Regions from separate parts of the Homo sapiens genome. Here regions 1 and 2 are each linked to region 3. The links are contacts of gene promoters, found by promoter capture Hi-C in human tissues and cell types (Jung and others, 2019). All regions are on one chromosome and are shown on one strand. Each heading gives the region's core, a stretch centred on a gene start or on the middle of the fragment in contact. The rest is flanking DNA. Distances are from core to core; before and after follow the strand shown.

Region 1 (2,700 bases), core at 143-2,642, 570 kb before region 3:
TCTACCTCTTGCCCTCTTTCCTCTAACCACATTGATCTATGGAAAATCCCTGAAGGTACCTGTATGCTCACGTCTCATTACTTTTGCCCAGGTTGTTTCATGGTCTCTCACCCCCTGGTCACCTGGAAAACTCCTGCTTATCCTTCAAGACTCAGTGTAGGTAGCACTTCTTTTCTGTTATCTTCCCTCCCTCTGCAAAGTTAGCTGCTCCCTTCTACAGCTCCCATAGGAGCCCGTATTTACAATTATCAGGGCGCTTATACACAGTATGATAGGGTTCAATTTTTTAATTTTTCTTTAGAGACAGGGTCCTGCTCTGTCTCCCAGGCTGGAGTGCAGTGGCGTGATCATGGCTTACTGCAGCGTCAACCTCCTGGGCTCAAGTGATTTTCCCATTTCAGCCTCTCAAGTAACTGGGACTACAGGAGTACCATGCCCAGCTAACTTTTTGTAGAGATGATGTCCCGCTACGTTGCCCAGGCTGATCTGAAACTTGTGAGCTCAAGTGATCCTCCCACCTCAGCCTTTCAAAATGCTGGGATTACAGGTGTGAGCCACCATGCCTGGTGGATGTGGTTTAATTCATTTTCTCCTCTATTAGACAGGGAGATCTTTGAAATTAAGATAATAATCAAATCATCTTTGTACCCCCAGAACTACTAGATAAGTGCTCAATAAATGTTTATAATTGAAAAAATTTTGCACAAAATATGATATTAGTGTGGAAGACACAGAGGAATAAGGTAAAGCTGCTTAAAGGATTCAGATCTGGCAGTTGATAAACCTTTAATGAAACATAATGTAAGATGAAATAATTTCTGAGATACAAGTATGCCTTGCTTACAAGTAAGGGCCCACAGAGGCAAATTTTAAAACAACAACTCCTACTGCTAAAGAATTGTGAAATCTCCTTTCTTTCCTCCTGTCATGAGACTCAGGGTCCATAGTCAAACAATCCGTTCATAAGTTACCTGGATCCATTCTCATTCCCTCCCTCCCAACATTTATTCAACATCTATTTAAAGAGTGTTCCCTGTGTGCCAGGCAGGTCTCTACATGCTGGATATGACAGTGAGCAAAACGCTCTCCCTGTTTTCATAGAGCCCAGGTCTAATAGAGGAGAAACAAACAAACAAAAATCAAAATAAATTGCCACAGGTGTCACAACAGGGGAAGGAGAAGGTATTTGGGGAGCAGGTGGTGGGGGGCAGAAAGACGACCTAGAAGAAGTGCCCTGTAAACTGAGACCTGAAAGATGAGCAGACGGTGGAGATGAAGATCAGCTGGGACTGACTAAGCCTGAGTCTGGGCAGTGGAACGGCTTATGCAAAGGCCCAGAGCCAACGCAGCCTGGGGCCTGAGTAACTAAAAGAGGTTAAAGCTGACTGGAATGTAGAGTTGGAGGGGAATAAGGTTGGGAGAAGAGGTAGGGAGACCAGCTGTTAGATGATGCTTGTCTACACTGTGTAGGCAGCAGTGTGGGTAGAGAGAAGTGAATGTACTTAAGAGATATCTGGTAGGTAGAGTAGATAGGACTTAGCAACAGTCTTTTTTTTTTCTTATTTTTCACCTCCAAGTAATCATCTTAATGAGGGGAAAATGGTAGGTCAAAAGGGACTTTAAGTTTTTCTGTACTTCTTCTTCTTTTTTTTTTTTTTAAGAAAAATGTACTTACAGCTAGCCTGGGCAACATGGCAAAACACCTCTACAAAAAAATACACACACAAAGAAATATTAGCCGGATGTGGTGGCGCACACCTGTAGTCCCAGCTACTCTGGAGGCTGAGGTGGGAGGATCACCTGAGCCTGGGAGGTCAAGGCTGCAGTGAGCCATGATTATGCCACTGCACTCCAGCCTGGGCAACAGAGTGGGACCCTGTCTCAAAAAAAAAATTTAAAAAAAAAGAAAAATGTACTCAGGTATTAGCATGAAAAATTAATAATAAAAGGAAATGTAATTAAGCTGGTGTCATGCTTGATCACAGTCCAAGCAACTTCACCTCATGTGTACTTCATTCATGTTCCCAGCTGGCCCTCTGCAGGCATGTAGTTTGTGATTCCTGACCTTTTATGCAAGTCATCTAATCTGAAGGGAGGGCCATTGCCCCTGCCCTACACCATCTCCTTCCATCTCCTCTAGGCTGTTGGTGTAGATTTGTTATTTGGGCAGACTTGAGTTTCCAGCGGCTTGCCAACCATATCTGGACACACTATGGAAGCCTTTCTTCCCTTAAAGATGTAGAAAGAAAAAAGAAATTTGAAAGGAAATTCTGGATGTGAATCTACCTGTCAACTATCTAGTTGATATTTAATGTCTTTTATTTTCTTGAGTCTTTTGTAGATATGTTTGGGCCTACATATTTTCTTTTTTCTTTTTTTTTTTTTTGAGATGGAGTCTCACTCTGTCATCCAGGCTGGAGTGCAATGGCGTGATCTCAACTCACTGCAATCTCTGCCTCCTGGGTTCAAGCGGCTCTCCTGCCTCAGCCTCCCGAGTAGCTGGGATTACAGGCGGCTGTCACCATGCCCGGCTAATGTTTGTATTTTTAGTAGAGATGGGGTTTCACCAATTTGGCCAGGCTGGTCTTGAACTCCCAACCTCAAGTGATCCGCCCACCTTGGCCTCCCAAAGTGTTGGGATTACAGGCATGAGCCACTGCCTGGTTGGCCTACATATTTTCTAATGCAAGCATAAAATAT
Region 2 (2,700 bases), core at 153-2,652, 660 kb after region 3:
AGAATATGAGCTTCAAGGGGAGGTAGCTCTGGTTCCAATGGCCATTTTTTCATACTGCCCACATGTACTTAGTGAGATGGGCACTGTATGGAGCATTGGGCCTCGTAAGCCCTCATAACAACCCCATTAGATGGCTGCTGCCAACATATGAGGACATTCAGGCACGGAGAGGTAAAGTAACTTTCTAAAGGGAGCATATAATGAGGTCATCATAGCATAACAGAAGCAACACAGGGACCCAGGGACCCAGGGGAAGGCAGGAAAAATGAGAGGAAGAAAGCAGATGAGGAATGAGGAGGAATGAGAGGTAAATATTCTTGCCCAGAGCCTGTCTCCTCAGCCCCAGGGATGTGGGGTCCAACTGATTTAGCTACTTCCCTCAGTTTTGCCAGGAGGAGATGTAGGGCAGGGAAAAGGAGGTCAACAAGGATTGAAGGGAAGATTTATGAAGATGCAGAAAGGCCTTTCCAGGGAAAGAAATGTCTGAACAGGCTTGGCAGACAGGATGTGATGGGTGCTTTATTTCCCTGGGGGACCAGGGAGCTTGGGAGGAGGATGCCGCTTTCACTGGTCACTCTCAACCATTTAATTCAGAACCTGTGTTTGGATCCCAAGGGAGCTCAGGCTCCCAAAGTCATGAATATACATAAGCCTAATCCAGCATTAGGGACAATAAGATAATGAAGGTGGCACCCTTAATTCCTTTGGTTGCCAGTTTGTCTTAATTTTTTAATTAATGAACAATTTCAGATGTCAAAGCCTTGAGACACGGAGTAATGCAATCTTTTCTGAGAGTTCTTTATCTCTTCCTATGTGTGATTTCCACCCCACCCCGACACCCCACACCCCCAGTGTTTCAGCAGTTTCCTCTTCTCCATTCCTGAAGAACCTGCATTTCCTTTTCCCAGCTCTGGTTTTGGCTTCCTGTGTGCTAAGCCTTTGCAGTTGTCATCATGTCTTCAGGATGCATTTGATAGGTACAGGAAGTCGCACCAGACGGAAGATGGAACCAACAATCAATAAAAAAAGAACTATGTTTCTAAGAAAAATGCATCATGGCTTCCCACAGGAGTTGTGAACCATATGTCCTAATATCCCTGTAACAATGGGTCTAATTTTTAGCTCTTCTGCTCTGCCCTCCCGGCCATCTCAACAAGAAAGAAAATAGATCTTTTAACCTGCTGCTCCCCGGCTAATGATCTGTAGTAAAGATTGCCTTTCCTTTTAACTCATTCATCAGATACCACAAAATAAAATACGTCCCTCCTCTCCCGCTAGCTTTATTTCTCTCGGCTACTAGTTTAGTATATTTATGGTGTATGAGTCATCAAGCTGCCTCCTGATTGGATAAAAACCAAGCACCTCTGAGACCGTCAGTCAATTACAGCTATTCTCAGCTTCATTCACAGATTTATTAGCTTGCACACACACAGAGAAATTCATTCGGCAAAGTTCATTCATAAAAATTTCAACACGCTGCGTATCATCCTGCACATCTCAGCTTTCGGCTGCAAATGGGCTTCTGAAAAAAGCTCCGAGAGGAATCCAGGAGGGAGGGAAGCTCTGAGCGAGGGTAGGCAGGCTGGGAGGGGATCTGAGGAACACGGACCCATCACAAGTCAGTGAAACAATGCGGAGCAGCGCCCGTCAGTAGTACTCCTGGCTGGTGGCCCAGAACGGGATGCAAGACAAGATCTTCCAAGAGAGGGCAGCCTTTGGAATCAACGAACCCAGGCAAAAGGGCCTTTGGTTCATAGATACATTTTTTTTTCCTTTTTAAATGAACAATCACTGGAACAAATAAAGGGTTAATAGGCCAGTCATTTGCCCCGCCCTGTGAGAGCCGAAGGGAGCAGGTTCGAAAGTTCCTGTGTGCAGAACAGAAGGCTGGGGTGAGGGTGGGAGTCGGGTGCTAAATATTTCTACTAGGCTCCTGCAAGGCTAGTGATGCAGCGGGCCCCCCGACCGGCGCTCGCCCGGGTTCTGCGCCTAAGAGTTGGCCGTGAGCGACCCGCGCCGCCGGGAGCCTGGGTCTAGGCTCTCCCGACAAGGATTCCAAGGCGAGAACACTGGTGCCTCTGCCTGGGCCAGGGAGAGACTGAAATCAGAGCAGGGGAGGCGTTTCCCCCATGGGCTGTCACCCTTAAGGGGCCGGGAGCCGAGGTGGGCGAGCTCGAGAGCAGAGTTGGAGAGGTGGCTGCTGTGAGTTGCATCGGGCGTTGAGGTATCTGATGTCTGCACCGTTTATCTACCAGACGACGAGGCGATTTATGCAACAGTATCCTGTTTCAGCACTGCCAAGGCTATGCGAGAACGCGGCCAGGACAGCCTGGCAGGACTCGTGCTGTATGTAGGACTCTTCGGGCACCCCGGGATGCTGCACAGGGCCAAGTACAGCCGCTTTCGGAACGAGTCGATCACGTCCTTGGACGAAGGTAGCTCCGGAGGCTCGGTCGGGAACAAGGGCTCGCCGCAGCCTCCCCACCCCGCCCTGGCACCTCACCTGCCGACTGAAGATGCCACCTTGCCGTCGCAGGAGAGCCCCACCCCACTGTGCACCTTGATCCCCCGCATGGCAAGCATGAAGCTGGCCAACCCGGCCACTTTGCTGAGTCTGAAAAACTTTTGCCTGGGTACCAAAGAGGTGCCTCGGCTGAAGCTCCAGGAAAGCCGGGACCCAGGTTCCAGCGGCCCCTCTTC
Region 3 (2,700 bases), core at 194-2,693:
ACTTTAGTGAATCTATCCCCTCCAGCATTCAACTCTGTAAGAGCAGATTCCTTCCCTGATCTCACCTATTCCTGATTCTTATGCAACAGCAGGAACTCAACAAACACTTGTTAACTAAATCAAAACCATTCTGCAAAACACATCCAGTAAGCATCTCACTACTGAAGTATCTGACAAACTACCTTTATGGGCCGTCTGCAGCCTAGCACAAGTGGCAGGCTGGCAATTTTTTTTTCTCCAAAATAATAACAAAAAGCTTCTACCTCTTCCATTATTGTAAGCTGACTCACCTCCCAATGGAACACTATACAGACTCCCCTGTCCTATATTGTGGACCAATTCAGTATTAGAAAAAAACCACTTCCAATTTTCTTTAGAGTGTTTTTAAGAACTTGGTCACATAGGACCTACAGGTCCAACATTCATTTTTCATAATCCAAGGTAGTAGTACCCTTTTTCATATAGGATCAATGGCCTCTCCCACACCACCCGCCATATGGTAACAAACTGTCTTGCCTTCGTTTTCATGGTGCACTGGGTTAGTCCTTACATGCTGCGATCTACAGTATTGATTTTACCATCCAACTTTGTGGGCCTGGCGACTGAAAATGTTAATATACTTCCTTATTTGTCCTACATTCCCAATAAATAATTTAGACGTAAGAAACAGGCTCTTTTGCTTATTATGTAACCACAACCTCAATATTTTAAATACACTGCATGGCATCACTAATTCTACGTCTGTACTACGCTTCCCCTTCCGTGATAACCAAACCCCCACAAACCACTCCAAATACTAAAAATAAAATAAAATAAAGTATGGGGTTCCTAGGGAACTGACTTTGCCAGGACATACTTTTCGTTGGGGCGGAATGCACCGAAAATCATTGGTAGGAAAAATAATTTTTTTTTTGAGGAAAAATTTGGAAACCTTTTTCCCAAAGGGCCCGCAAGATCCTAAAAAAAGCAAGAGACCGCGCAGAAACCGAGGATCCCCCTCACAGGCGACACCCAGCGCGACCTCCGCTAGGGTCCTGACAAAGAATGTCCACTTCCCGCGGCCGCACCTCTGGGGCCAGACCACTGGTCTCCAGAGAGGCGCGGGGACCTCCACCAGGGATCGGAGTGGTACTCAGACCTGCACACCCGCGAGTCCTCGAACAGCTCCACACGTCTCCAGCTCCGCCCGAGCCCGAGCCACGCGCCGGGCCGTGATCGCGCACGGACCAGACGGAGCGCTTTCCGGGAGACACCAGAGGGAGGAGCCAGGCAGTTACTAGCGTCGTTGCTAAGGCAGGGGCCGCGCACACCGCACACCGCGCGGCTTAAGCAACAGGCTGGGACGACAGCGGGGGGGGGGTTAGACGGGAAGTTCCGCCTCAGCCTCTCAATCAGCGGCGGTGTCGCACTTCTCCCGAGAGGCTCCGGCGAGGGGCAGGGCCGCGTTCGTCCGGGACCCGCCTCAAGCCTCGCAGCCTTTCACCCAGTTTCCTCCCGATTCTTGCTGGGACAACAAAATTGGGAAGCGGTTCTCGAAACATACTGTCAAGGCGTAGTTGCAGTGAGTTGTGAAGAAATGTTGATCCCAGAGAAAAGTTTGCATTTTGCCCACCTCAAAGATATTTTGATTGTGAGAACTTGGTTACATTAGTCTTTCGTGGCTATATCAATATCATTATTTCGTGTGCTGTGTGGTAATGAAAGCTATTAGAAAAATCATTTGTATCTTAATGATTTAGTTTGCATAAAAACACGCATATAGAGTTAAGAGTACTTTGTGTTTTTCCACTTTGAAGTATAATATGTGGATAAGTTATTAGAACATTTGTCCGTGCCTCTCCCCAAACAATGCGCAAACGGAAGTGCACTCTAACAACTAAGATTTTAAAACACAATGGTCAAATGTTGAGCAATGTTTTATTGACTACTCTGAATTTATCAAGTGGTAGATAAAGGACATTACAATGCCCTAGAAGTGCTCACGATATCAAGTAAAGCATGTTAAATTCAAGTACAGAAAATGCAATATTCTTACTACTGAGATAAAAAATGGAATTTAATAAATTACAGGAATTTCAAGAAAGCTGAGAATGGAGTGGTCAATAAAGGCTTCTTTTTCGGACTTGGGTAAGGCCTTGAAGAATGATTTAGGTTTAGGACAGTGTTTTTCAACTGGAAAGGGGATTGTGTGGGACCCATTAGTGGAGGTCTTGACCCATTTGTAAGCAAGGAAATCTCTTTAAACTTAAAAAAAAGAAACAATATAGATTGGAAATATCAGCGCATGTAAGTAAATTTAGTGTTAGTTAGTAAAGTACTGCTTTATGGAGCTTTTAATTGTATATATGCGTGTATGTGTGCACTAGGGCTTGTTTGTAAAATGTATTTCTTACTGTATTTCAAACCTTAAAAAGTTTGAAAGCCAGTGATTTAGGGAGAAAGGTGAATTTTCTGGGTAGGGAAAGTAGAATAGCAAAGTCTATAAGCCAAGAAGAATTCACAACCATTTTCCTTTTTAGTTTAACTCTAAATTTTATCAAAGTAGTTAAATTGCACAGATTAAAAAGCAAATAATACTACTTGTTAGATTGAGCATTGGGTTGCTATCGTATGTAATAAATTACTCCAAAATATGGTGGCTTAAAACAACCATTTTATTATGTTCACAGGTGGTGTTGTCAATAGGGCATAGTCATCAGC

What was found. The method cuts DNA at HindIII sites, captures the fragments that hold promoters and counts their contacts. A contact is called where the count stands out against the background at its distance.
Region 1: a contact is called between a fragment that was not itself captured here and the fragment with the promoter of FAM227B in region 3, in 1 of the 25 tissues and cell types used here (dorsolateral prefrontal cortex).
Region 2: the fragment with the promoter of SHC4 here is called in contact with the fragment with the promoter of FAM227B in region 3 in 1 of the 25 tissues and cell types used here (adrenal gland).

The regions. Positions count from the first base shown.
Region 1 is chr15:50,191,746-50,194,445 of GRCh38, reverse strand. The region is part of intron 1 of SLC27A2 (solute carrier family 27 member 2); the gene reads right to left. Among named protein-coding and RNA genes, the nearest start is that of SLC27A2, 11 kb to the right of the region's middle. The HindIII fragment of the contact is 7,424 bases long and covers 1-2,700 here.
Region 2 is chr15:48,962,621-48,965,320 of GRCh38, reverse strand. SHC4 (SHC adaptor protein 4) reads left to right here and starts at 1,402. Exons shown (of 12, transcript NM_203349.4): 1 at 1,402-2,700. The coding sequence starts at 2,306. RefSeq lists enhancers at 1,924-2,425, 2,426-2,700. The HindIII fragment of the contact is 15,905 bases long and covers 1-2,700 here.
Region 3 is chr15:49,619,561-49,622,260 of GRCh38, reverse strand. FAM227B (family with sequence similarity 227 member B) reads left to right here and starts at 1,443. Exons shown (of 16, transcript NM_152647.3): 1 at 1,443-1,561. DTWD1 (DTW motif tRNA-uridine aminocarboxypropyltransferase 1) reads right to left here and starts at 1,213. Exons shown (of 5, transcript NM_001144955.2): 1 at 1,139-1,213. RefSeq lists an enhancer at 982-1,101. The HindIII fragment of the contact is 10,713 bases long and covers 1-2,700 here.